Regions from separate parts of the Homo sapiens genome. Here all the other regions are linked to region 1. The links are contacts of gene promoters, found by promoter capture Hi-C in human tissues and cell types (Jung and others, 2019). All regions are on one chromosome and are shown on one strand. The core of a region is centred on a gene start or on the middle of the fragment in contact, and the rest is flanking DNA. Distances in the headings are between cores, read along the strand shown. Region 1 holds the start of CIC (capicua transcriptional repressor). Region 2 holds the start of RAB4B-EGLN2 (RAB4B-EGLN2 readthrough (NMD candidate)). Region 3 has its middle 6.5 kb from the start of ZNF575. Region 4 overlaps XRCC1 (X-ray repair cross complementing 1). Region 5 holds the start of ZNF428 (zinc finger protein 428).

Region 1 (2,700 bases), core at 60-2,559:
AACAGGGCATCTCCCTGTCCTCCTCCACTCCAGTGTGATACCCTCCTACCCCTGGGATCTTTAAAAATCTGCCTCTGTCAGGGGCGTACACCCACAAAGTGTAGCTCTCCACGTAATGCAGTGCGAAGCCCCAAGAAGCGCTGCATTTCGTCATCTCGGCCCCCTGCCCCAATGCCTAGTGGGCTGTCAAACTGCGCTGTCCTAAATGTCAAACTCTTGGAGGAGGTGACCTGTCCCCCGGGCCCCAGGCCGCGCGCGTTGCCTATACTGCAGCGCGCGACACCCCACAAGCGCGCGTTCTCTCCCCTCCCGGTGGCAACAGGGCTTTCCGCGGGGCCGCGCCAGACTTTTCGAGACCGTCAATTGGTCGTAGTCCCGGCCACCCGGCAGCCAATCAACAAGGGGAAAGGTGACATCACTGGTTCTCCTCCCCTCCCCCAATCCAAACTTCCCTACTCCGTCTACCGGCAGCAACAACCACGTGGGGGAGGGGTAAGAGAGTAGAACCGGTGAGGTCATTGCACCGCCCCGGCCGCTGCTGATTGGCTGCGGGGCTCGCGGGTGGCGGTTGGCTGCTCCTTGCACCTCCCCCTCGTGCCGCTACCGCTGCCACTGAGAGGAGCCACCGGCGACGCCAGAGCCAGGAATACGGGTGAGTCGGGGCCCTGGGTCTAAGATACTCCTGGCGTCCAGTGAGACTCACGACGAACTGCCCTTTTCGACTTTTTCTCCTCGCCGGGTTTCTTTGGTGCTCCAAGCACTCTGTCACATGGGAGTTGTAGTCTGCCTTGTACTGTCGGCTATGGGCCGAAGACGTGAGAAGACTACGGTTCCCAGCAGGAACTGCGACTAGCCGGTCAACAAACGTTCGGGCCACGCCTTCTACCTCCGTTCATTGGACAACCCGTCCCTTAGCCCCTCCTCCTTTCATTTCATTGGCTACTGTCCCTCACAGAGGCTGGGTTCCGGCCTAGGCTGCATGGCGACTGGGTACTGTATTTGTCATTTGGAACTAAGACGGCCTGCAATTGGACACGACTGGTGTCCTTCACTTGTTGTAGGGTAGGGCCCTAGGCAGATCAGGCAGTCGTAGGCTCAGGTTGGTGTCGGTCCCGGAGGGAGGCCGGTCTTGGACTTTGGCCCCGCCCCCTAGCGCTGCCCGATGGGCCCAATTGGTCGCCGCGAGCGTCGCTCGTCGTCGAGAGGCGGAGCCGACCAGTCTGCGGATATCTATTGGTCTAGGCTGGCGCCGGTCAGTGGGGTTGTGATCGCTGATTGGCTGGCTGCTCCAGCTGTTGCAGGTCCATTCACCATTTTGTGTGTTGGAGTAAAAAAAAAAGGGAGAATCGAGAGGGAGAGCCGGAGGGGGGGCGGGGAGGGACCGGACCGGACCGAGCCGGGGCCACGGCCCCCCGCCCCGAAACCCCGCCGAGCCCAAGGTGAGGGGCGGGGCCAGGGCTGACACAGGAAAGGGGGGTCCGGGGGGCTGGGGGCCGAGAGGGGACAGGTGGCAGGGACGGGGAGGGGGTACAGGGGGAAAGGGGTGGGCGGAATGGTGGGAAGGGAGGAGGGAGTGGAGGAAGTGGTGGGGGTTTGACAGAAAAAGGGTAACTGGGGGAGGGGGTGGTGGGCAAAGAAGGGTAACAGGAATGGAGGGGTGACAGGACTAGATCAGGGTGACAGGGAGAGGGAGGGGACAGAGTTGGAGAGTGTGACAAGGAGAGGTGATGGGGAGAGAAGGTGACAGGTCCGGAGATGGCTGACAGGACAGTGACTGGGAGGAATAGGTGACAGAGATAAATGGGGGTGACAAGGAGGGGGTGACAGGAGGGGGCCTAGGGCATTTTAACCGAGAGGTAGAGATAGAGGTAGTGACAGGATGAGAGAGAGAGTGTCAGAGAAGCTGGTGCCAGGAGGGCTAATGGGAACAGAGGGTATGAGACCCCAAAGAGCCAGGGCCTGGGCTGGCCTGGGCTCCGGGAGTTACTACTCAGATCTGAGGAAGGTGAGGGCCCCCGGGGCTTGGGTGGGAGTTATTCAGACAGGGTGGACAGGAAGAGAGTAGGCCCTAGGGGAAAGAAAGCAGCTCTGGGGCGAAGAGAGGCTGGGCCAGGCAGCAAGGTCTAGGGGTCCAGGCGGCATAGTTGTAGGCCCTGGGTGGGGTATGCAAAGGTTTGTGCTTGGAAAAAACTGGAGCCAGATCTCAGTCCCCAACATGGTAGTCTAGTGGGTCAGCGGGTATTAGGTGGTGATGGCTGCCCAACTTCTGGGCATTTGGGTGCCAGCCCCGGGACGCCCTCCAGGCTCTGCCTGTGAGGACCCCAGGATTGGCCCAAGAAAGGGCAGGCCTGGGACTCCAGGGTCCACAGGAGGAGCAGGCCCCTAGTGAGAGAGCATGAGGTCAAGGGTCCCCCAGTAGCTGGAAGACTGAGTCGGGGTTGCCTCTCATTGTGTTTGGCTTATGGTTCTGGGTCCCCCAACCCTCCTAGAGGCCTCTGTTTTGGCCTCTCAGGTTCTCTTAGTCACTTCAGAGTAAAGTTTTTTCCCCTTTTCTTTTCTCAGGGCAGCTCGAAAGGGGGCGGGCAGTAATGACTGTTCAGGAAGTGGGTGAGGTTGGCCTGTTGGGCTTGTCCTGCTTTCTTTGACCTTATCCCACCTATCCCCACTTGGAGTTGGAGGGCATATTTGGGGGCCTGCGGG
Region 2 (2,700 bases), core at 143-2,642, 1.5 Mb before region 1:
ACAGGTGGCATTTAAGCTGAGATTCATATGACAAGGATGGAGCAGTTATGTGGAGATCAGGGAGAAGGGAGAATGCAAAGGCCTTCAGCAGGCACAAGCTTGCCATCTTCCCAGACCCTAGCTTTTAACTCCTCTTCCCCAGGTTCAGGGAGATTACTATGGAGATCTGGCTGCTCGCCTGGGCTATTTCCCCAGTAGCATTGTCCGAGAGGACCAGACCCTGAAACCTGGCAAAGTCGATGTGAAGACAGACGTGAGTGTCATGGGGGCTGGCAAGAAATGTGGGGGGAGGACCCTTAGGTTGTGGGGATGGGCAAAAATGCTCCCACACTTGGCTCCCTGGCAGCCTAGGTATGTGCGCTGGGAGAAATTCTTTCCCTGCCTCAATTTTCTCACCAGTAAAATGGGTCCAGTTGGGAGGTGCAAAGATTAGAGGGCTCTAGGCTAATTTGCATAGCACTTGTGTGGCCAGACCTGGGCCCTGCAGCTGCAGCCTTTGCTAAAACCACTAGATCCTTTGTGGTGTGACCGCTGGTTTTCTTTCCACTGTTTCCCCTTTCTCTTTTTCAGAAATGGGATTTCTACTGCCAGTGAGCTCAGCCTACCGCTGGCCCTGCCGTTTCCCCTCCTTGGCTTTATGCAAATACAATCAGCCCAGTGCAAACGGCTCGTCTCCGTGGTCTTTGGGGTGGGGTAGGGTAGGGTGGGGACTGTACAAATGAAATGTTTCTCTAGGTTGCTGAATCTAACCAATTAACCCGCTGCCTGTGGTAACGTCAGTGGTTGCTAGGCAGAGTTTCACTGATGAAAGCCCTGTGCAGTAGGAGCGCTCCTAAGCTTAGGTTTCGGACACAAGCAAAGGAAAACCTAAGCAGCCCAACTAGGGGATTGTAGTGTCCTCTCTAGACCAGTGGGAGGGAGCCAATCGGACTACGCGGAGGATATAAATCGCACAGTAAAGGTTTTCTTGGAAGATTATCTGGAAAGGGAGGTGGGAAGTAACCTGCGCCTATCTGCCCAGTTTTCCTCCTTTTCGCCTTTGAGAACAGTAATCGCTCCCGCCAGCTCAAGATCAGCTCCTCTTCCAGCCTCTTTCTGTCAATCCTGCCCGTGCCCCCTTCTTTGCATTTGTATCCCCTCCCCCAAGTCCGCTCCGATCCAATCCGGAGACTCGACTCTGCCCCCCGTACTCCAGACTAAATCCGTTCCTCGGCTCAGCTAAGCAGCTCTGCACGTCCCTTCCCACTTGCTCAGCCAATCGCTGGGCTCGGCCCCGCCCCTTTGGGCTTGGTCCTTCTCACGCCACCAATCCGCGCCTCTTGTCCCGCCCCCTGCCCGCGAGTCCGCCAATCCCGCCCTTCGGAAAGCGTCGCCTGGTATCCAGCTGCCGGAGCGGGTCGCGCCGGAGGGGGGCGGAGGCGGAAGTGGCGGTGCCGGGCCCGGGGAGTAGGAAGGAGCCGGGGCTGTAGCCGGAGTGGAGCGGCTGCCAGCCGAGGAGCAGGCGCGGCCGCGGCGCCATATTGCGGCCCTCAGCGGCCGCGACCGAGTCATGGCTGAGACCTACGGTGAGGGTGGTGGACGAAGCTGGGGTCCTGGGTCTGGGCCCAGGGAGGATGCGGCCTGTGGGAATGGGCGGGGCTTTGTAGATCAGGGGGCGGGGTCTGGTGTGATGGAGGCAGGACCTAAGTGGATGCTGGGAGGGGTTTAGTGGGTCTGAGGCTGAGCTTAATCGATTTAGGTGGAGCCTGAGGGTCTGGTGCGTGGGTTAAATAGATCTGGGGCGGGATTTGAGGGAGCTGGTCCTGAGGGGTTCAGGGAGGCCCTGAGGGAAGAGGTGGGCCTTAATGGATCTGGGCGGAGCCTGAGTGAAGGGGCGGGGCTGACTGCATGAATGGCAGGAGTCGGGCTTATGGGCTAGAGGGAACACTGAATGGAAGCTCGGGACCCTGGGGCTGATCTGGCTGGAGAGAGCTCTGGAATGGGTTTGGGGATGGGCTGTCCTTGAGTTAGGGGCAGGACTTAGTGGCAAAGGGTGGGACTTATGCATGAGAATGGAGCCGGGTTCTGGGCAGAGGGAGGGAAGGAGAGGTCGGGAAGTGGAAAATCAGTAGGGATGCACCATAGGAGGTGGTGATTGGAGGCAGGGGAAGTGCAGGTTTAGGAGTCAGAGGGAGCCGCATTCACTCAACAAATATAGAAGAGAAGGGAGAAGAGTGCAAAGACCCTGAGGTGAGAACCAGCTTGTCATTTTCAGGGAATAGACTGAAGGTCAGGAGCTATAGTGGAGTGAATGAGTCAGAGGGTGGTAGGAGGTGAAGAGGAACAAGGGCTATATCGTAGTCCTTGTTTAAATAGCTTTCAAGAGACTTTAGCGACAAAATAGCTAAGATCTGGGACTCTGGAGCCCTTGGCCTAGGTTTGAATCTCACTTCTGCCCAGCTGTGTCACTTTGGGCAAGTCAGTTAACCTTTCTGGCCTGTTACCTCATCCGGAAAATGGGAATAATTTTTAGTCTACCTCCCTCATAGAGTTTTCCTGAGGATGATGTGAGCTGTTGATGTGAGTAAAGACCTTTAGAACTGTTCCTGGCCCACAACAACACACAATTGACCCATGTAACAAACCTGCACATGTGGGCTGGGCGCGGTGGCTCATGCCTGTAATCCCAGCACTTTGGGAGGCTGAGGCAGGCGGATCACC
Region 3 (2,700 bases), core at 173-2,672, 1.3 Mb after region 1:
CTTGGCCTCCCAATGTCCTGGGATTCCAGGCGTGGGCCGCCAAGCCCAGCTGCATCTGTTATATGTTTAAGTTTTGCAGGCCATACAGTGTCTTCCACAACTATTCCACTCTGCCACTGTAGCAGGAAAGCAGCCACACACATTACAATACATAAATGAATGAGCATGGCTGTGTTCCAATAAACATTTACCAAAACACTAGGTAGGCTGGATTTTGCCTATGGGCTATAGTTTGTTGAGCCTTGACATGGATGAGTGGAGGATGGACAGACTAATCATAAATAAGGCTAAGAGACATGGGGAAAAATTAAGTTGAATCCCCTGGTATGTAGAAGAATGATCCCCCAAAGATATCCACATTTGAATCCCCAGAACCTGTATGTTAGCTTGCATGTAGCAAAAGGGACATTGCAGATGTGATTGAGATGGGTAAGTTATCCTGATTATTCAGATAGGCCCAATATAATCACAAAGGTCCTTATATGGGAAAGAAGGACGCAGAAGACAGAGAGAGGTGATCATGAAAGCAAACATTCGAGTGATGAAAGGCCCCAAGTCAAGGAATTTTGCCTACAAAGGGCAAGGAAATAAATTCCTCCTTAGAGCCTCCAGAAGGATTGCAGCCCTGCTGACACTTGATTTTAGCCCAATAAGGCTGATTTTGGACTACTGACCTCCAGAACTATAATAAAATTAACTTGTGTAGTTTAAAACCACTAAGCTTATGGCAATTTGTTACAGCAACAATGGGAAACTACTGCAGATCCCTACCTCACACCATATGCAAAAACAAGTTTCTGGGAGTTTAAGATCTAAATCTGAAGAGAAGAACTCAAAAATATTTACATGGAAATAAGAAGAATTATCTTAGTAACTCCAGAAGTAGAGACAGTATCCTTAAGAGACAAAAGAATGTAAATCATAGATGAAAACATGGGTAAATGTGACCATAAATGAATGTAAAGTTATGACTAGGATGGATGAGATATAGTATTTTAAGAGTGTGTACCTGGCATATCCTATTATACAGTGGAGGTTAGGAAAGGCCTTGTTGAGGATGTAATGTCTGAACTGAGATCTGAAAGTTGTGGTGGAAGGAGTGAGAGAGTAGAAAGTGTCCATAGATTGGATAAAGAAAATTTGGTACATATACACCACGGAATACTATGCAGCCATAAAATGGAATGAGATCACATCTTTTGCAGGGACATGGATGGAGCTGGAAGCCATTATCCTCAGCAAACTAACGCAGGAACAGAAAATCAAACACTGCATGTTCTCACTTATAAGTTGGAGCTGAATGATGAGAACACATGGACATGGCCGGGCATGGTGCCTCACGCCTGTAATCCCAGCACTTTGGGAGGTGGAGGCGGGCATATCACCTGAGGTCAGTTCAAAACCAGCCTGGCCAACGTGGCAAAACCCCCCTCTACTAAAAAACAAAAATTAGCTGGGCGTGGTGGCAAACGCCTGTAATCCCAGCTACTCGGGAGGCTGAGGCACAAGAATCCCTTGAACCCAGGAGGCAGAGGTTGCAGTGAGCCAAGATCATGCCACTGCACTCCAGCCTGGGCGACAGAGTGAGACTCTGCCTCAGAAAAAAAAAAAAGAACACATCAGGGGAACAACACACACTGGGGCCTGTCAGGGGGTGGGGGTGGGGGGCTAGGAAGAGCATCAGGAAGTATACCTAATGCACGCTGGGGTTAATACTCAGGTGATGGGATGATCTGTGCAGCAAACCACCATGGCATGTATTTACCTATGAAACAAAACTGCACATCCTGCACATGTACCCCCGAACTTAAAATAAAAGTAGGAGAAAAGAAAGTGTCCAGCCTAAGGGCTAGGACTGAGCAGGCTGCTGAACTGCACTCTACTCAGTAAGGCATTTCGGGGAAGGTTTTGGGAGGGGTAAGGGTTCTACTCTGTCCTCCCAACCCAGCAGTGCTGCTTGTATCCACGTTTATGCAGAGAACTGTCCGGAAGAATTTCTCCAAAGCAACCACACCAGCAGCAAAATTTCAAAGACACATACTCATGTGAGAGGGCGTTGATCTGGTCCAACCTTACTTTTACAGATTGGGGAAATGAGGCCAGGAAAGATGAGATTTATTGGCAACCAAACCACAGGGCAGTACCTGAGTCTAGGTGGATCCTAGGTCTCTTGATAGCCTGACACCCACCCAGCTGTTCCTTGAACACATAATGCTCGCTCCTGCCTCGGGGCCTTTGCACTTGCTTTTCCTCTACCTGGAAGGGCTCTCTCAGATACTCCTTACTTCTCCCAGGTCCCTGCAGAGGGGTAAGTCCTCCAAGAGGCCATCCCCAATCATCCTATCTATAAACTACCAGGACCCTGCCATTGCTCTGTCACTCACAATGCTCTATTTTCCTTGCTCTCACAGCATTTCCCACTGTCCAAGGTTGCATTGCACGTGCACCATCTCTCTCCCCCTGTACAATGTCAGGCCAATGAGATCGGGGACTACTGTTTTTTTCATACTGTCTTCCCAGTGTCCCCCACATGGTGGCTTTGGTAGGCAGAGTAATGGCCTCCCAAAGATGTTCACATCCCAGCTGGGCACAGTGGCTCACGCCTGTAATCCAGCACTTTGAATGGCTGAGGCGAGTGGGTCACCTGAAGTCAGGAGTTCGAGACCTGCCTGGCCAACATGGCGAAACCCCGTCTCTACT
Region 4 (2,700 bases), core at 8-2,507, 1.3 Mb after region 1:
GTTTACATCCTAATCCCTGAACCTGGAAATGTGGCAGAAGGCACTTTGCAGATGTGATGAACTTGAAGATGTTGAAATGGGGGAGATGCCCCTGGATTATCCGGGTAGGCCAAGTGTCATCATAAGGGTCTTTATAAGAAAGGAGGGCTGGGTGTGGTGGCTCATGCCTGTAATCCTAGCACTTTGGGAGGCTGGGGTGGGTGGATCACTTGAGCCCAGGAGTTTGAGACCAGCCTGGGCAACACAGTGAAACCCTCTCTCTATAAAAAATAACAAAAGCTAGCCAGGAGTGGTGGTGTGCACCTGTAGCCCTGGCTACTTGGGAGGCTGAGGTGGGAGAATCACTTGAACCTCAGAGGCAGAAGTTGCAGTGAGCTGAGAACACGCCACTGTACTCCAGCCTGGGCAACGGAAATGAAACCCTGTCTCAAAAAAAAATGAACAAAAGAAAAAGAAGGCCAGGCGCAGTGGCTCACGCCTGTAATCCCAGCACTTTGGGAGGCTGAGGCGGGCAGATGACGAGGTCAGGAGTTCGAGACCAGCCTGGCCAATATGGTGAAACCCCGTCTCTACTAAAAATACAAAAAAAAAAAGTTAGCCGGGCGTGGTGGTGGGCACCTGTAGTCCCAGCAACTCGGGAGGCTGAGGCAGAAGAATAGCTTGAACCCGGGAGGCAGAGGTTGCAAGGAGCTGAGATCGCGCCAGTGCACTCACTCCAGCCTGGGCGACAGAGCGAGACTCCGTCTCAAAAAAAAAAAAAGAAAAAGAAAAAAAGAAGGCAAGAGAGTCAGAGTTGGAGAAGTAACAATGGAAGTGGAAGCAGGCGTTAGAGTGACAGGAGTGCTGGCTTTGATGAAGGAAGGGTCACAAGCTGAGGAGGGCAGATGGACTCTAGAAGCTGAAATAGGCAAGGAAATGGATTCTCCCCTAGAGCCTCCAGAAGGAACAGGGCTCTGCCTACACCTAGATTTTAGCCCAGTGAGAGTGATTTCAGACTTCTGACCTCCAGAACAGTCGAATAATACATTTGTGTCATTTTAAGCCATGATCCAAACTTGCTCTCTTCCCTGATGTGCAGTTTACCGCCCTGTGTCTGCCTTCTGTCTCCTCCGTACACTGGGTGATCCTCCAGAGGGCAGCAATCAGGTGTGACTCACATCTGCCCCATGTCTTCCCAGCCCCAGCCCCTGGGGGAGACGGTGATGCGAGCATGAGGGGCAGAGGTCAGTATGGGATCCATCTCATAGCCCTGCTTACCTCATAGTCTTGCTCCCCAGCGCCTCCAGCTGAACTGCCCACCAGCACCTCCACGAAAGCTGAGCCATCATTCCCAATGTCCACACTGTGTATCTGCTCCTCCTTCTCCAACTGTGGGCAGAGAGAGAGGCCACTGTCAGTGCCTGCTCTGCCTCTGGGCTCACTGTGGGACCTCAGGATGAATCTCCTTTGGATCACCATGTCCCTGTAATGTCAATTCTGTGAGGGGGCACACCAGGGTTGAATGGTGCCATGTGTCCCCTCCATGCAGCACAGGGTATGGCATGGAGCAGAAACTCACAAAATAGTCACTGAATGAATGCATACGCGCCCACCTCACACATACCTGCTTCCCTGACCTCTCCAGACTCCACCAGGTCAGCTTATCACACACTGCCATAGAGCTCTCCTTGATAAGCACTTGCCAGAGTTATAACTTTATTCAAATCATCATGCAGACAAACAGCACATGTCACCCCTCACCCACAATCGCAGAGGACTCCAGGAAACCTCCCTGAGGGCAGGGGCTTTGTCCGATCTTGCTCACCGCTGGTTCCTGGGTTTGAATCCCAGCTGTGCTGCACACTAGCTGTATGACCATACCAGTTAACCTTTTGGAGCCTCAGTTTTCTCATCTGTAAAATGGGAATGACCACCATATCTAGGATCATGCACATAAATAATGGCCACAGGGCATGGCGAAGAGTAGGCAATTATCTGCTGTCAGTCAGGAGGTATTATTAGTCAGTGCTAGACAACTATTTGTTGAAAGAAGAAAAGAGCTACCTATAGGAGGGCTCATCTCAAAGGATCTGCCATTCCTGTCTGACAGATGAAGATGCAGAAAGCCGTGCGGGCCATGCGGGCACGGGAGGCAGTTAGGTTGAGGCAAGTGTCCTGCCTTCCAGTTTGGGGCTCTTTTATTAGGATCCTAGAATGACGCATTATTACAACTCTCAAAGGTACCTGGGCCAGGTGCAGTGGCTCAAGCCTGTAAATCCAGCACTCTGCGAGGCCAAGGCAGTGGACCACTTGAGGCCAGCCTGGCCAACATGGCAAAACCCCTTCTCTACTAAAAATATAAAATATAGCCGGGCATGGTGACACATGCCTGTAGTCCCAGCTCTTCAAGAGGCTGAGGCACAAGAATCTCTTGAACCTAGGAGGCAGAGGTTTCAGTAAGCAGAGATCATGCCACTGCACTCCAGCCTGGGTGACAGAGCGAGACTCTGTCACAAAAAAAAAAAAAAAAAAAACCAAGGTACCTAGTCCACCCTACACTGCCCTCTCCCACCCCTGGTGATGACAGATGCTCCAATCTGCTCTGTTGCCTCCCTGTCAGATCATCTAGACATCACCTGCACACTGCTATCAACAGGAACACCACTGTATGGAAGGAGGGAGCCTGGACTTGGGGTGAGGTAGGCCTGGGCTCAAATACAG
Region 5 (2,700 bases), core at 172-2,671, 1.4 Mb after region 1:
TATTTTTAGTAGAGATGGGGTTTCACCGTGTTAGCCAGGATGATCTCGATCTCCTGACCTCGTGATCCACCCGCCTCGGCCTCCCAAAGTGCTGGGATTACAGGCGTGAGCCACCGCGCCCAGCCTACTTATTTATATTTTTTAAGAGACAGGGTCTCGCTCAGTTGCCCAGGCTGGAGTGCAGTAGGGTGATCTGTAGGAAAGGGGCTTCCAGGCCTTAACTCATGTACTCCCCCATAACCAGGTTGGGAGGTTAGCTCACTGTAACCTCAAACTCCTGTGCTCAAGGTACCCTACTAGCCCCTAGGAGAGCAGCTGGGACTACAGGTATGCGCCACCATGCCAGGCTTAATTTTTACTTTTTTTTTTTTTTTTTTTTTTTGTAGAGACGGGGGTCTCACTATATTGCCCAGGCTGGTCTTGAACTCCTGGTCTCAAGCGATCCTCCTGCCTTAGCCTCCCAAAGTATTGGTATCACTGCAACTAGCCCAAAGAATTAATATAGCTATGTTCCATGTGATATTTGGGACATACTTTTCTAAAAGGTTGTATCTTTTGGATATAATTGTTTATCTGAAATTCAAATTTAACTAGACATTGTATATTTTATACGGCAACCACACACCTGGGACAATCAAGACATTCCCTGAAGTTACCAGGAGACAATGCCCATCAGCCTACACTTTTCCAAGCCCACGTCACACAAGGCCCCTTCCAGAGTATTCCAGACGTCAGGTAGGGCCATCCCTTGGTTCACAAGTCCCACTCCTACCACGCCTATGGCAGCCAAACTGAAAGGCAAACACAGTGCTGGAGACCCCACAATGCCCTGGGCCTATAGCAGTCAATTCCCAAGATGCCCCGCGTGAACACAATAGGCACCCGTTCCAATGCTCGAGCAAAGAGACCAGGGCAAAACCTTCCACTACGGGACAATAACGGCCAGTTCCCACAATTCGTTGTGGCAGTTCTTCCCAGGATGCCTTAGGCCTATAGCGACCACCTTCCCAGACTCCCCGTGTGGAAGCGCTCCAAGCCTCCAGGACGGTCAGCGGCAGGTGTGGGATAAAAGGAACCGGTCTCGACAAGGATCTGGGACACTCTTTCCCAGGATGCACCAGGCCTACGACTAGCGGACCGACTCCCACAGCGCTTCAAGGCGGAGCGCTCGGTTCTCCCAGGATGCCCCAGGGCGGCACAAACGCGTAGGGGGAGAAAAAGAAGCCCTCGGGTCACCACGGCCCCAGACCGCCGGCTCCCCGGTGACGGGAGTCGTCGCTCCCATCATGCAGCGGGGCCGTAGCGCCCGCTTCCCGGCATGCCTCGCGCACCCCTGCCCGGGACACTCACCGGCGCCGGCGGCCCCCGCTCCGGCTCTGCGGCGGCGGCTGCACGCCCAGCCTCTGCGCCTGCGTCGCAAGTAGGGTAGGACAGCGCGCAGGGGGCGTGAAGAGCCTAGGGCGCTTGCGCGGCGAGACGGACTAGTCCTGTAGCGCTGTGGGAAGAGGGGCTATGCGCGTCGGGCCGTCGACGAGACCCGCGCGGGGGGCGCCGTGCTTTGCCCCTCGCTGCCTGGGTTTACTTGGTACAGCCCGCGGCCCAAAGGAACAAGAAGCTGAAGGGTTCGCGCGTGCGTGTGCGGGGCAGGAACGCGCCTTACAAAACTGGGATGCGCTGGGGGTGGAGGGCGCTAGTTCGGACTGGATCCTGGGCCCGAGGCCTGCTTATTTGCATAATCCTAGCGCGGGACAATGAAAGGCCTCCCGCACTGGAAGGAGTGATTTGCATATTCCCCGGAGGGGCCTTACTCCAGAGCGCAGTGATTAGCATATGGCGGGGGCAACCTGAGCAAAGCGCATGCGCGCAGGGACTGCAGACTGACGCGAAGTGGGTAGCCTTGTCTTCGTAGGGGATCAGTTTGCATCCTGAGAGAGGGCACGAGGGCCAGGACCCCTCCCAACCAGGATAAAGGTTTATTGATCTCCTAGGTGTCAGGCCCCATGCTGGCGGATTCTGTGGTTTCTGCAGTGAACCATACTCCTGTACTCACGGCACCCCAGTCGAAGGAGATACGCACCTAATTAGACAACTACTACCCAGAAGGTCAGACCTGGAGTGAGGAACACAGGGGGCTGTGGGAGCCTAAGAGGCGCTTGCCCCGGCCTCTGGTTCTAGAAAGACTTCCAGGAGGTGGTGATCCTTAAGCCAAGTACGAATAGGAGCCAACTAGAATGGGAATGGGTCTGGCAGAATGAACTGCAAGCGCCAAGGCCCAGAGGCCAAAAAAAAAAAAAAAAAAATAGAAGCGCATGTTTTGATTGAGGAAGCAAGAGCAGCTTAGTATGCCTAGAACCTAACTGGAGACGGGAAATGGTTCTATAGACGATGTTAGAGTTCAACTATGGCTACATTCCAGTCTTCCTGTAAGTGACTTTGTCACATTCTGGCTTAAAACTCCCCCAAAGGGATCCCATTAGGAAAAAAAAAAAATCCAAAAATCTTTATCATGGCCTCAGGGCTATACACCTGGTCTGGCCGTGCTTATCTTTCTGACCCCACCTACTTCCTCCTCCCTCCATTTCTGTCCAGCTCCACCTTACCCCAAACTCTTTACCAGCTCGGGCCTCTGCTCTTGCCGTTCCCTCCGCCTGAAAATGCTTTTCCCTCTGACCTTTGAATACCTACTCTTGTGCTCACCAT

What was found. The method cuts DNA at HindIII sites, captures the fragments that hold promoters and counts their contacts. A contact is called where the count stands out against the background at its distance.
Region 2: a contact is called between the fragment with the promoter of RAB4B-EGLN2 here and the fragment with the promoter of CIC in region 1, in 1 of the 25 tissues and cell types used here (pancreas).
Region 3: a contact is called between a fragment that was not itself captured here and the fragment with the promoter of CIC in region 1, in 1 of the 25 tissues and cell types used here (pancreas).
Region 4: a fragment that was not itself captured here is called in contact with the fragment with the promoter of CIC in region 1 in 1 of the 25 tissues and cell types used here (aorta).
Region 5: a contact is called between the fragment with the promoter of ZNF428 here and the fragment with the promoter of CIC in region 1, in 1 of the 25 tissues and cell types used here (psoas muscle).

The regions. Positions count from the first base shown.
Region 1 is chr19:42,267,943-42,270,642 of GRCh38, forward strand. CIC (capicua transcriptional repressor) reads left to right here and starts at 1,310. Exons shown (of 21, transcript NM_001386298.1): 1 at 1,310-1,439. RefSeq lists an enhancer at 300-809. The HindIII fragment of the contact is 15,630 bases long and covers 1-2,700 here.
Region 2 is chr19:40,776,827-40,779,526 of GRCh38, forward strand. RAB4B-EGLN2 (RAB4B-EGLN2 readthrough (NMD candidate)) reads left to right here and starts at 1,393. Exons shown (of 12, transcript NR_037791.1): 1 at 1,393-1,565. MIA (MIA SH3 domain containing) reads left to right here. Exons shown (of 4, transcript NM_006533.4): 3 at 143-253; 4 at 571-664. The coding sequence ends at 594. It overlaps RAB4B (RAB4B, member RAS oncogene family), which reads left to right and starts at 1,421. Exons shown (of 8, transcript NM_016154.5): 1 at 1,421-1,565. The coding sequence starts at 1,550. MIA-RAB4B (MIA-RAB4B readthrough (NMD candidate)) reads left to right here. Exons shown (of 10, transcript NR_037775.1): 3 at 143-253. RefSeq lists silencers at 555-684, 1,235-1,474 and enhancers at 1,535-1,604, 2,492-2,700. The HindIII fragment of the contact is 40,090 bases long and covers 468-2,700 here.
Region 3 is chr19:43,538,342-43,541,041 of GRCh38, forward strand. No RefSeq gene overlaps it. Among named protein-coding and RNA genes, the nearest start is that of ZNF575, 6.5 kb to the left of the region's middle. The HindIII fragment of the contact is 6,429 bases long and covers 1-2,700 here.
Region 4 is chr19:43,559,653-43,562,352 of GRCh38, forward strand. XRCC1 (X-ray repair cross complementing 1) reads right to left here. Exons shown (of 17, transcript NM_006297.3): 3 at 1,258-1,368. Among named protein-coding and RNA genes, the nearest start is that of XRCC1, 15 kb to the right of the region's middle. The HindIII fragment of the contact is 6,758 bases long and covers 1-2,700 here.
Region 5 is chr19:43,618,208-43,620,907 of GRCh38, forward strand. ZNF428 (zinc finger protein 428) reads right to left here and starts at 1,422. Exons shown (of 3, transcript NM_182498.4): 1 at 1,351-1,422. LOC105372411 (a long non-coding RNA gene) reads left to right here and starts at 854. Exons shown (of 4, transcript XR_001753942.2): 1 at 854-1,425. RefSeq lists an enhancer at 781-1,431 and a silencer at 1,236-1,475. The HindIII fragment of the contact is 11,511 bases long and covers 1-2,700 here.